2 separate regions of the Homo sapiens genome follow, and region 2 is linked to region 1. Evidence: promoter capture Hi-C in human tissues and cell types (Jung and others, 2019). All regions are on one chromosome and are shown on one strand. Each heading gives the region's core, a stretch centred on a gene start or on the middle of the fragment in contact. The rest is flanking DNA. Distances are from core to core; before and after follow the strand shown.

Region 1 (6,787 bases), core at 3,068-5,567:
AAGCATCTCCTGGCAGATTCTTCCTGGTGGCGTCACTATTGGGTTGAGAATACTACCGGTGACCAGAGAGAGCAGAGGAATTAGCGTGCTGAGCAAGGAAACTCCAGAGAAGCTGCCAGCCCAACAGGATAGCCAATGCCACCCATGGCTGCTGCGACGGACATTGGGAGTGACTGCTGTGTGGAGACTGCTGTACTGGGACCATCAGTATGAATACTTTCTTCTTTCTTCAAGCGCACATTTGTAATAGGCAGGACCAAGTCCCTTTCTACTTGGAATTGCCAGCTTGGGCTCATTGTGGGTGCTCAGCATGTGCCATTACCACTGGACTCATGAGAGGTAGAAAAAGGCGTAAAGGGGGCATAGACACGGCCAATGCCTCCTGACAATGATCATACAAGCCACGGGCAGCAGGTGTCCCACAGAAGGGCTGCCAGCCCTAATCACAGGAGTCTGACCAGATCCTCCTTGATAGTGACAGGAGGAAGCCAGCCCTCCTCCTCAGCCCTGGAGGAGTTCACACAGCAAATCAACAAATGCTAAATGGGAGACTTCCGGCAGCCGCTCACGCCTGCCATTGGGCATCCCAGTCTCCTCGTGGTTCCTCAGGGCCCTCGAGCGTGAAGTGGGGTGCTGGAGCCATGCTCTCATGGGCCTTTCCAGAAGGAGCAGCCTGAGATCCTGCTCACTTCATAACAGAGCCCAGGAGTTGGGCTCCCTCCAGGCCTCATCTTCCCAGCACCTCAGAAGTCAGTAGGGCCAGCCATGCTGGTGTTCTCCCGCTCTCAGCCAGGGCTCCTCACATTTGATGAAATCTCCAGTCCTGTTAATGTGTCTAGAAAGTCAACTTGTGTATTGGAGGCAGGGGTGGAGGGAGGGATTTGAAATTACCTGGAATTCTTTGTCTTAGTGCAATTTGTCTAAAGTTACTGTATTCTTTTCTTTCCATCCATCCCCTGCCCCCAAGCCCACAAATCCTCAATTTCTAAAAACTGGAAGCAAACACATAATAAGCCATCCTTCTGTGTTTGCAATCTGCTTGTCAAACTTATGGAGCCAAAGAAATAGTATTAAAAATAACGATAATAAACATGGTCGGCTTGTGATTGCTGTGTTCTCCAGTAGAGGTCTTTAGCTGCCAGGAGGCTGAACGCAGAGCAATATTTAATAAGCACTGTCTAATTTCCAGGCAGTCTTGCTTCCTAGCTTTCTTTTGATTTTGATGCTAATATTTGCGTCCCTTGAGAACGGCTATGATGCTGAGGGGTCCTGTGCTTAGAGTCCCTTTCAGCCTCACACACACACTGGGACTACACAGCTGGCCAGTAGCACTATGTGATGTCACCTGGGTGCCTGAAGGCCCCCATTCATTTGCCTGATTTTGGTCAATTAAACAAACTTCAGGAGGAATTACTGTGGCTTTTTCAGGGAGGCTAGAGCTTTCTCTGGGATGAGGGCAAAAAATGAAATGAGTGGAAAAATCATCTAACAGTGCAAACTCCACACTACCCTGTAAAACACAGAAGAGCCACCGTAGGAGAGATTTGCAGGCAAAGTAAAACCACTAACTGCACGATCCAGTCTTCTTTTAGGTGCCTCGTCTGTATTTACTTATTTCACTGGAGTGACCACCCGGTAACATAGTAGAAACATTATTTCCATTTTACAGATGAGGAAACTGAGGGACAGTAGATTCAGGACGATGCCTCGAGTCTCACCCAGCTGGTGGGCGGTAGGGCTGGGATCTGAACAGGCTGGCTGGCTCCGGCGAACCTCGGCTCTTCCCTACTCTGCTCTTATGTTGCGTGGAAACTAGGCCAGGATCAGGGAACTCCTGATCTTCACCCTGAGGAGAAGCAAAGAGAAGACAGCCCTGAGGCGCCCCACTCTGGGGCAGCGTGTGTGACCCAGGCCTTCGGACCGAGAAGGGAGAAAGGAAATACGTCCTTCCCTATCCTGAAGCGGAGGGCGTTCCAGGTTTCGCAGGTAGTGCTGCAGCCGCGCAAGGACCGGGCGAGGCTGCGCCCCTGAGCCCAAGTCTCCACTCACCGGCCTTCCCTTGCCCCCTCACCTGCACGCGGGTACTTTTAGCCCTGGGCAAGCCTTGAGCCAAGCGCCGAGACCAAACCCGGGAAATTAAACAGTGTGCATGGAATGAAATGTGGTCCGTGGAAGGTGCCTGCAGCTGGCGGTTAACACCGGCAGTAAGAGGATCAACGCCCGGGCCGCTGGCTTAAAAATGGGAGTGGGAGTGCGAAGTGTGCGCGCTCCTTTTTACCCATTCACGTTAGTTAATTTGGATGATAAGGGTTCGCGTTTAATCTCTTTGTGTGCGAGTGAATATCCTGAAATCGACAACCCCTGAGAGGGCACTCGCGGCTGGCAGAGCAACCTGGGAGGGTGCGGATCGTGTCCAATCTGGCGTGAAGCAGAAAGGAAACATCGTGAGGAGACTAGAGGCAGGACCGAGAGGGACACCCTAGGGGTGCGAGGTGCAGACCGAGCCCTCACATCTCCCAGGCCGCAGCAGGTGGGCCGATGGCTTCCCCGAGGCCTGGCACCCCAGGCCTGGCTCTGCGCCCTGAGGCTCCCAGGTCCCACCAGCTAGAAGAGCGCCGCCTACCCACCCCTGCCAAGGTCTAACGACCCCAAGGGGGGCGCTGGGCCCTGCCATCTCCCTGCAGAACAGAGAGAATTTAGGCAGGGTTAGGGGCAGGCAGAAAAGAAGAAAAATCTGAGAAGCGGTCTCAGCTGTTCCCAGATGGAAAAGATTAGAGAGGTGAGAGTTCGGTGGCTCTAGAAAGGGCCATAAAACAAAAATCATTTTTATCGTTTCAATCTGCAAGAAAGCTCACCCCCCACCCACACCCCACAAGCTCAGAGCCCCCAGAGTATAGGATCCGAGGCAGCAAGTGTGAGCGAGGCCCGTCCTGGGGGAGGTGGCCTCTGGCCGCGGGGCCAGGTTGCCCTCAGAGGCGCAGGCGGCCAAGAGAGTTCCCAGCCGCCGCCGCCCCCCTCCTTCCCCTTGGGCCCGTCCAGCAAATTTCCTCCCTCGTTTCTGTTCGTGCCTTCCCTCCCTCCTCCTCCCCCCGATATTTTCGCTTTCTAAAACCATAAAAAAGAGATCAACTTCCCAAACTTCACAGGGCCCTTTTCAGTGACAAATATTGATGCCCAAAGTGTCTGCGCTCTCCCGCCCCCAAACGTTAAGAAAAGACGCCAGCGAAAGGGAGACATAAAAAGTTAACAATGCTGTGAAAATATGTTTGCAGAAAATAGACAATCGTTGGATTAAACGTATTCAAGTATGAAATAATGCCTTTTTGTGTCAAAACTTGGGCGATGGGCGGGTACAAAAGTTCCCTGTGGCAGCTACTTGCTCCCTTTGTGAGCCGTGCGCTTTGGCGTCTCCACTTGGGCGCATTACTCAGAGCCCTCTAAGCGCGATTGTTTCTCCCTTTCTAATGACATTTACCGGATCAAAACATGCTGTTAATTCGATCAGAAGGCTTCACCCTCCCTGACAAAGCCACAATAATTTCTCCTGAAGTTTGTTAAATTGACCAAAATTAGGCAAATGAATAGGGGTCTGTAGGCGCCCCCTCTCGCAGGTGACGTTGCATAATGCTTGCCTGGGCCAGCTGCATTCCCCCTTTTCTTCTCGGCCCACTCTTCTCCGTGTTGCCCCCCAATCCTCCCACCCGCCCCTTCACACACAAACACACACACACGCCCGCCAGTCTCTCCTCCCCCACCCTCTGGCATTATTAAAATTTAGCCCAATGAAACTATTCATACTTTTCAATGGACATTTTCGTATAGGATAATAGGCTACAAATTGAGCCTCTTCCCCCCGCGAAGAGGGAGCAGGAGGGGTGGGGAGAAAAGAAAGCCAGCGACGTGGTCAGGGAGTAGGGGGGAGCGTCGCGTGCCAAACAGCGGCGGGAGGGGCGAGGCGAGGCGAGGCGGGAGCCTCGTGTGCCAGCCGCAGCCCCACACCTGCCGGGATGTCCGGACAAATAAAGCGGTGTAAACAAAAAGGGGGGAGAAGGACGTGTCACCAAGTCGTGTGAGAAAAGCCTGGGAACAAACGGGGCGCCTCCGTCTCCAAGAGCTCTCCCTTGAACCCGGCGGAACAGCCTATTAAAGGCTTACTTAATTACTTTAATGACTCTGGACAGGCTTTAAAACGCACTCGGCGCTGGGACGGCGGGCTTGCTGGGATTTGTAAACAGGCGATCATGTGAGACTCAGCGGTGGGACTAAAAGAGGCGACACTGTTTTGTGAGGGTCCTCGCCCCCCGGTGCCCGCGGCCGCTGCGCCCCTGCGCTCCGCGCCCGCGACTGCTGCAGGCGCTTGCTCGCCCGCCGGCCCCAGTTTACCGCCTCCTTTTCCCGCCCGAGCTGTTGCCATGCAAATGTTATTCCTGGGCCGATCACGTGTCCTTTGAAGGGCCACGTGGATTAACAAAGCTGATCTGCCCCCAGCTCGCCCCCCTCGGCTGCTAATTTTTTTTTTTTCTTAACTTCTTTAAAACTGATCTTGAATGCATACATCCTCCAAACGCAGCTCCCCTAATCCTATGGAATAATTCAACTCGTGAATGCATCTGGAGCCCTAGATGACCGCTTTATAAGGCAGCCCTCGGAGTTGGGAGGCTGCAGTCTACCTGGGACACTCGAGGAGGCACACGAGGCGGAAAAGTGGACGGGTGCCCCGCGCCACCGCCTCTCCCGAGGGCGCGTACTGACCAGGATGTCAGACAAGCTCAAGGAACGCAAAGTGAGTCGGCTGAGCCCAAATGGCACTTGCGCCCTGGTGGTGGAGGCATCTGACTCACCGACCCGCCACTTGGGTGGACCGATGGCAGGGAAGTGCCCGCACGGGACTTTGAGTGTGGAGGAATCTCGAGTGGTTTGGGAAGGGGGTGGGGTAGAGAGAGGAGGGTGCTCAACCAGGTAGAAGTCCTGCCTGGAGGCTGGCGGCCACCTCCCCAAAGGCCTGGGTAGGGTGGCTGGAAGGGGAGCGCGCCAGCGCGGGCGTCAGAAGGCAGAGCTCACCTGGCCCGAGCGTGGCGGGCCAGGAGTCCCTTCCTAGAGCGAATCTGAGCAGTGTGCGCGGCTGGAGAGGCGGCTTGCACCCAGCTGCTAGAGCCGCGCCTTTGACGACTTCCCGGGCAAAGCCATCCTAAACATACAACCCTCTCTTCGCAGAGAACCCCCGTTTCTCATAAAGTGATAGAAAAGCGGAGGAGGGACAGGATCAACCGCTGCTTGAACGAGCTGGGCAAGACAGTGCCCATGGCCTTGGCGAAGCAGGTAACGTTGGCGACCCGGAGCCGGGTGCCAGGCGTTGGGAGGCCTCTGCGGCCACTCTGCGGAGACGCCCGAGCCCGCGGACACAGAGGACCTCACTTGCGGGCCCCTCCCAGGCGGGGGGCCTGAGCGCAGGGCGAACCTCAGGAGGCTCTGGCGCAGATCCGCAGCCGCGTCCGCTCGCTGGTCCTCTCCAGCGCCACAGTGCCCGACCAGCAGGCGCTGGGCCGCTGCGAGGGGCCCTTCCTCCTTTTGCAGAGTTCCGGGAAGCTGGAGAAGGCGGAGATCCTCGAGATGACCGTTCAGTACCTGAGAGCACTGCACTCCGCTGATTTTCCCCGGGGAAGGGAAAAAGGTGGGCACAGGTTAGGGAATGGGACGCCTGGGCCAGGCGCCTGCGCCACCCAGAGACCCTGGGGCTGGGAGGGGAGTGACTGAGTGTTCCCGAGAGCTCTACTAGAGCTCCACTCTCCAGGAGGGCAGGGGTCCTGCGAAGGCGCCTCTCCCTGCTCGGCGACAGCAAGGCGGCGAGGGAGAACTGGTTCCCAGGGAGGCTGGTTCCACCTCCTTCTCCCGGGTGGGGTGGGTGGGGTCAGGCTCTCAGGGAAAGAGGGCGTTTGCGCGTGCCTCGCCAGTCTCTAAGACTGCGCAGAGGAGAGGGCGGGCCTCAAATGGGAACTTTGGCCAGAAAATGTGGTGGGAGGTGCCCTGCACCCGCTTTGGGCTCGCGTGGGGAAGGGGCACTCAGGGTGTGTCCGTCCTACGGGCTTTCTCGTTCCTCCAGCAGAACTTCTAGCGGAGTTTGCCAACTACTTCCACTATGGCTACCACGAGTGCATGAAGAACCTGGTGCATTACCTCACCACGGTGGAGCGGATGGAGACCAAGGACACGAAGTACGCGCGCATCCTCGCCTTCTTGCAGTCCAAGGCCCGCCTGGGCGCGGAGCCCGCCTTTCCGCCGCTGGGTTCGCTCCCGGAGCCGGATTTCTCCTATCAGCTGCACCCTGCGGGGCCCGAATTCGCTGGTCACAGCCCGGGCGAGGCCGCTGTGTTCCCGCAGGGCTCTGGTGCCGGGCCTTTCCCCTGGCCGCCTGGCGCGGCCCGCAGCCCCGCGCTGCCCTACCTGCCCAGCGCGCCAGTGCCGCTCGCTAGCCCAGCGCAGCAGCACAGCCCCTTCCTGACACCGGTGCAGGGCCTGGACCGGCATTACCTCAACCTGATCGGCCACGCGCACCCCAACGCCCTTAACCTGCACACGCCCCAGCACCCCCCGGTGCTCTGACGCCCACTCGCCCGCCAGATTTCTCCTCGCTTTGGGCGCTTTTAGGAGAAATGCTGTATATATTGTACACATAATGTGTAAATATTGTACCCCAAAAATCTGGGCTGGGGGAGGCAAAGAGCGAATGAGTCTTCTGAAGGATCTCCCCCTGGTAATAAACGTTTTCTGATAAAGACCCAAAGAGAGG
Region 2 (6,787 bases), core at 2,205-4,704, 86 kb after region 1:
AGGCGCCCGCCCCCGTGCCTGGCTAATTTTTTGTATTTTTATAGAGACGGGGTTTCACCGTGTTAGCCAGACCCCGTGATCCGCCTGCCTCGGCCTCCCAAAGTGCTGGGATTACAGGTGTGAGCCACGAGTTATTATTATTTTTTAATTTTTTGCCGCTAGTCTGTGGGTGGGGGTGGCAGAGAGGTAAGGTGAGGATGGAGTTAGAAACAAGGCTAGATTAGTCACAGAAAAAGCATACATTTTATTACCACATTTAAGTTGTGAACAAAAGGTATACCTTTGTTCTACGTACTGTCCACTTTTTGCAATTGGCATAGCTTATCATGAGTGCATATTACTTTATCAATTAAAAAAAGCAGTAAAAGCATATGAAAGTAAATGTCATGAAAAGTACAAATAAATAGTGGGCAGATGACTAATAATTAAACTCTAAGAGAAATATTTTTAAAAACCCATGGGGGGCCAACCAAGAGATGTTGTAACTTGAAAACCACATCCAGCAGGTAAAATTAAATGAGGGGCAAAGAGAAGCACCATGATCCCATGAGGTCACTGAGGCGCAGGGAGGAACGCCTGGCTGCCAAGCAGTGCTCTGGACCATCGCCGTGGGTGTCAGTGAACCTCCCTGTAACATCTGGTTGAGGAGACAGGCAGTGGAGCCCCGGGGGCACACAGAAGGGCTCTGGCACCAGCCTGCTTTGGTTTGAATCTGCGCTGCCACTTACTAGCTCATGACTTTGTTAAGTTACTTAACCATTCTTTCACTCAATTTCGTCATATGTCACTTGAGAATAATAAAGTTAATTCATTCGTCATAGGGTTACCACAAGGATTAAATGTAAAGCCCTCAAAATTGCTCTTGGCCCACAAGAAGAATTTGGCTATTACCGTTACTTCTGGAATTGACTGAGAAAAGAAAAGATGCTGAGTTTCCCACCTTCTATGCTTAGAGAACCACCATCTCTTGTCTTGGGGCCAGCCATCTCCCCACAAAGGGGCCAGTCAGCAGAACGAGCATCAACACCTCCCCTCTCACCCAGTCTTATTGGGGTGGGGGTAGGGAGGGGCCAAGAAGATGGCCTGGGAAGCTGTGGCAGTCCAGCAGCAGGGCATCCAGACATCCCATTTCCTGGCTCCGCAGCAGCCTGGCCATGAGGCTCACTCGCAAGAGTAGGGAGAGGTCAGGGGGCATGGTTAGGGGAAGGAGGTGGCACCTGCAACTCCCGGCTCTGAGCAGTAGATGGTCTTGCGCATGCCTCCAGACCCCTCACCTGGGAGCTCCGGAAAGCAGAGAAAGTTGGGGGCACATAATCACCTTGTGCTGTAATGCATATGCTACATTACTGGAAAAACTCAAGTAAAATCTGTAAATGCGATATTAATACACCAGGCTGAAAATACACTCGGTCTTTGAGAGTTTACAGTTTAGAAACAATTATAATAGGGTATGGAGTGGGTGCTGTGAGAGAGTCAGGGAGGAGAGGAGGCATCTAGGTCAGATGGAAGAATGCAAGAAGGCTCTCTGAGGAGGCGACACTTAGACTGAACTTAAAGGATGAGTGTGAGTGAATGAGAAAAAAGGGAGGAGCATTTCAAGAACAGCACATGAAGGGAACTGGAGGCAAGAAACAGCACAGTGCATCTTAGAGCTTGTATGTGGTTTGGAGAGGCTGAGATGGAAGGTGGATGTGCGGGGGTGAAGGGAGACGAGGCTGGAGAGGAAGGCCATACCCAGAGAATGCAAGACCTGGCATGCATGCCAAAGGGTTCTAATCATATTTGCAGTTTCGAAGGGTCATACAGGCTGGGCACTGTGGCTCATGCCTGTAATCCCAGCACTTTGGGAGGCCGAGGCAGGTGGATCACCTGAGGTCAGGAGTTCAAGACCAGCCTGGCCAACATGGTGAAACCCGTCTCTACTAAAAATACAAAAATATCCAGCCTGGGCAACAGAGCGAGACTCTGTCTCAAAAAAAAAAAAACAAAAATAATTAGCTGGACCTGGTGGTGCACACCTGTAATCCCAGCTACTTGGGAGGCTGAGGCAGGAGAATCGCTTGAAGCCAGGAGATGGAGGATGCAGTGAGCCAAGATCACGCCACTGCACTCCAGCCTGGGTGACAGAGTGAGACTTTGTCTCAAAAAAATAAATAAATAGAAGGGTCATACATCCAGCAGTATTTGAGGGTCCAGCAATATGTAGGGGTGGGCAGACTGGAGGCAGAAAGGGCAGCTAAGAAGCTACTGCTGTAGTCCAGGCAAGACAAAACAGTGTCTGCTCAAGGTAGAGACGAGGGAGAAGACAGGAGAGATGATAAAGCAATAGATTCTGTACTACTTGGTGGCTTGTTAAGTGTGAGTTGAGGGAGAATGGGAGTCTAGGTTACTTTGTTTTCTGATTTGTACAGACACTAAGATACAGAAGGTAGAGGAAGTGGCACAGGTTTTGAATGTGGTGAATTTGAGATGAAGTTTATAGTAGATATATGTGGCTGAAACTCAAAAGAAATGTCTGAGGCTGGGCATGGTGGCTCACATCTGTAAACCTAGTGCTTTGGGAGGCCCAGGTGGGAGAATTGCTGGAGGCCAGGAGTTGGAGACCAGCCTGGGAAACATAGGGAGATCTCAACTCTACAAAAAACAAAAACATAAAAAATTAGCCAGGCATGGTGTGTGCACCTGTAGTTCCAGCTACTTGGGAGGCTGAGGTGGGAGGATTGCGTGATCGCAGGAGTTTGAGACTGCAGTGAGTTGTGTGATTGATTGTGCCACTGCACTGTAGCCTGGGTAACAGTGAGACCCTGTCTCAAAAAAAAAAAAAAAAAAAAAGGTGGGGGCGGGGAGAGATAGAGGGAGGTCTGAGCCAGATATGTGGGCATGAGAGTCATCCTCACAGAGGTGATGTTGGAGCCATGATGTGCCCGACAGCACGTCTAAGAACATATACATGAGAAGAGTAACTGGGCCATACAAGCATTTAAGATGTGAGAAACTAGACCCCATCAAGGAATCCGTGAAGGAGAAGCCAGAGAGAGAAGAAAACCAGGAGATTGTATCATAGAAGCCAAGAAGAAAAAAATGCGTGGTTTTAGGAAGGAGTGAGTGGACAGTAGAGTTTAATGTTGCAGAGAAGTCAAATAAACTAAGGACTGGAGGGTGGACATTGTCACTGGACACCTTGGAGAGAGCAAGTTCAAGGGCAAAGAAGCCAAGCCACTGGACTGAGCGGCAGTGAGAGAGTGGGAGGAGCAGCCTGCTCTTCAGAAAGAGCTTGCTAGGGGCTGGTGTGGTGGTTCACGCCTGTAATCCCAGCACTTTGGGAGGCAGAGGTGGGTGGATCACTTGAGGTCAGGAATTCGAGACCAGCCTGGCCAACATGGTCGAAACCCCGTCTCTACTAAAAATACAAAAATTAGCCAGGTGTGGTTGCGCACACTTGTAATATCAGCTACTAGGGAGGCTGAGGCAGGAGAATCATTTGAACCCACGAGACAGAGGTCTCAGCGAGCTGAGATCATGCCACTGCACTCCAGAAAGAGCTTGCCAGAAAGGTGGCATGTAGAAAGGAACCAGAAAAGGATGGACCCGTGAGGGTGAGCTGAGATGTAGAACTGAGAAAATGTTTATATGATGAAGTAAAAAGCCATGTTTGAGGAAAACAGATTTTAAGTGGAGAAGAGCAATGAACTGAGAATCAAGAAACTTGAGTTCTGGTCCAGGTTCTGCCAATAATTAACCATGAGATTTAGGAAAAAGTCACTTCGCCTCTCTGTGCCTCAGTTTCCTCCTCTGTCAAATGAAAGAGCTGACCTAGATCCAATTTTATTTAGCCAGAATGTTTTCTAATTCTGAGTCTCCTCAAAAGGAGGGAACTGAGTTATTTATTCTGAGAGGTAAAAGTATTAGCATTTTGTTGAAAACATCTTAAAGCTAAAAAGCTGTCACTTGAATTGGGCCATTCTTTTGCCTGCAGAACTCTGGCACATAAGTAAACACACATGATATAACTGCCAAAGTAAATTATGTTGAAATAACTTATAGTCTAAAATTGACAGATTGAAAGTAAATACTGGCAAAGTTTCCTTACTCCTTTGGGGGAGTCCATCAGAAATACTTGATAGTTAATTTGTCTCTGGGGAACACTTCTTAGTAGACCCTCAGTCATTCACCTCTGCCCTCTTGCTCATCCACTTTCACTTGGCTGGTTGACTTTTTACTGAATGTGCTTGAGCGGGTTTCCACTCTACATGTTGTGAGCAAGATTCACGTCAGCTTTTAGCTCTGGAAAGAGAGCAGTTGAGAAAACAGGGACCTGCTGTAGTATGAAATCCACCTGGTGACCACCACACTGAGAAACATGGAACCTCTGACCATCTACGTTACCAAAAGTTATACACAGAAAATAATTTCTGCCCAATGGAGAAGAACGTTTGGGTAATTTTGAAACTACAGCACCTGTTGAGGGACTGTGGAAAGCACTAGTCCTGTCTAACAGTGTCACTTTGCTGAGTATCCAATCAACAGCAATAGTTACAGGACAGTATTTAACAAATGTTACAATGTGCATTCCCTTAAACTAATTTACATAAATTTAAACATACTCCTCATTTGTGTGGATATTCTGCAACAAATTGAGATGCTTTTATAAATTGAGATACTTTTTGTTTGTTTTTGAGATGAGGTCTCACTCTGTTACCCAGGCTGGAGTCCAGTGGTGTGATCGTGGCTCACTGCAGCTTTGAACACCTGACTTCAAGTGATCTTCCCGTCTCAGCCTCCCGAGTAGCTTGGACTACAGGCACACCCCACCACACCTGGCTTGGGGTACTTTTTTGTCCAAAGGATATTATTTCTTTTCTTGCAACCCTACAGAACAAAGTGTCGTAATGATGTGATAATTTTTGCCTACATTTCAAAGAATTGCAATTATTTATTTGTACATATATTCACTAAGTTTCATATCAGTAACATAAGCTTATAAAGTCATACAGTAATATAAAATGTGAAGCAATCTATCATTTAATCAAAATTTCTAAAATTATTTTCACTGCATTTTAGAGTACTCTATGGGCAATGCACAATAAAACATTTGGGAGTCTATTCTCCTTCAAATCTTAACATACAAAATGTGTTTATGTTAGAAAAATTGCCAAAATGTGCTGCAACCTCACATTTAGATAGGAAAGGATTCCTATCTTCCAGTCATAAACAAAACCGAAAACATCAAGCAAAAGATCCTCCCCAAGCAGGTTTTAGCCATTATTTCACATAAACCAAGGTAAATACACTATATATCACGGGGCCTAGTCTCAGTTGAGGCTTGCAATTTCCTTTCCTCGTTCTATCTATTGGAAGAAAGAAAGATAATCCATCCATGTTGGACTATCCTGTCAAGCTAGCCTAAATCACTGCGGGCTGGAAATCTCCAGAGTTTTCTCCTCATGATTCAAAACCAGTACAGATACTAAGACAAGACTGAAAATCACCCTGACACGTAAATTAGAAAAGAAGAATAAAATTCTAAGAAAAGCAGCTGAGTGAGTTTTTGTCTCTCTTTTCACACTGAGCCTGCATACAATGAGGGGGCTGTCATGTCCTACTTGACCACTTAGGGCACTGCCTGGAGCCCTGGCCTGGGAGTCAGAAGCAGGAATCTCAAGGTCTAGCGCATAACTGACTAGCCATTTGCCCCTGGGTCCCTCTCTGGACTTCGGTTTCTCATATGCAATAAAATGAAGGGGTTTTATTCCATAACTGCTATGACCCTTAGCTCTCAATGGCACTGATTATCTCATTTTCTTTTTCACCAACTCAAGAAATAAGTGTCTTAAATTTGTCTCTAACTGACAACAGGGCCAGTGGTGGACTCGTAATCCATGTTTGTTGAGCTAACTAATTAGTTTGGGCCCTGAAAACAAGAGGGTCTTCTTTGGTAGCTATTTGACAAACTGTCACTTATGGGATCTTTCTCTTTCAGGAGGAGAAAATGTGTAATTGTAAGCAGCTGAACTAAAATATCTCTGTGACATTTTGCTGGTGACTCCAGCCCTGTGAGATCTGAGTGGCTCAGGAATCAAATTCTCCCACAAACCTGAGGAAGCCTTTTATTCTTAATGCCAACAGGATGCCCCATGCCCAGAATGTCAAATCTGAACACCAATGGAATGCATTTTATAAACAAATTGAAAAAGGACAATCTTTAACAGAATTGTTGTTCTCTAGGCAGATTAGTTGTGCTTCAAATACAAAATGAAATATTAGAGAACAAAATTATTTTTAAACAGCTAATACTAGTAGAAAATAAAAGGCTGAAAAGTGCTATAATGTGTAAAAGGACTAAAATTTACTTTTATTACTTATTTATATATGAGTTGGGCTCAATTTTACCATTAGTCAATCTTTATCCTTTGGCAAGTTTCTTTTCTGTCTTTGGGCTTCTCATCTAGTGTCAATGAAAAGAGTCACTCTGGGCTGGGCGCGGTGGCTCACGTCTGTAATCCCAGCACTTTGGGAGGACGAGGTGGGTGGATCACCTGAGGTCAGGAGTTCAAGACCTGCCTGACCAACATGGTGAAACCCTGTCTCTACTAAAGATACAAAATTTAGCTGGGCATGGTGGCAGGTGCCTGTAATCCCAGCTACTCAGGAGGCTGAGGCAGGAGAATAGCTTGAACCTGGGAGGCAGAGGTTGCAGTGAGCAGAGATCGCACCACTGCACTCCAGCCTGGGGGACAAGAGCGAGACTTTGTCTCAAAAAAAAAAAAAAAAAGAGTCACTCTGTAAA

The links. Contacts are between HindIII fragments. The study calls those that stand out against the background at their distance.
Region 2: a contact is called between a fragment that was not itself captured here and the fragment with the promoter of HELT in region 1, in 2 of the 25 tissues and cell types used here (H1 embryonic stem cells and pancreas).

The regions. Positions count from the first base shown.
Region 1 is chr4:185,014,173-185,020,959 of GRCh38, forward strand. It overlaps HELT (helt bHLH transcription factor), which reads left to right and starts at 4,318. Exons shown (of 4, transcript NM_001300781.2): 1 at 4,318-4,783; 2 at 5,215-5,319; 3 at 5,575-5,671; 4 at 6,101-6,781. The coding sequence starts at 4,757. The coding sequence ends at 6,600. RefSeq lists enhancers at 3,568-4,148, 4,149-4,727, 4,728-5,307, 6,022-6,787. The HindIII fragment of the contact is 22,587 bases long and covers 1-6,787 here.
Region 2 is chr4:185,100,927-185,107,713 of GRCh38, forward strand. LINC02436 (long intergenic non-protein coding RNA 2436) reads left to right here. Exons shown (of 6, transcript NR_174108.1): 6 at 5,981-6,322. Among named protein-coding and RNA genes, the nearest start is that of SLC25A4, 39 kb to the right of the region's middle. The HindIII fragment of the contact is 6,305 bases long and covers 303-6,607 here.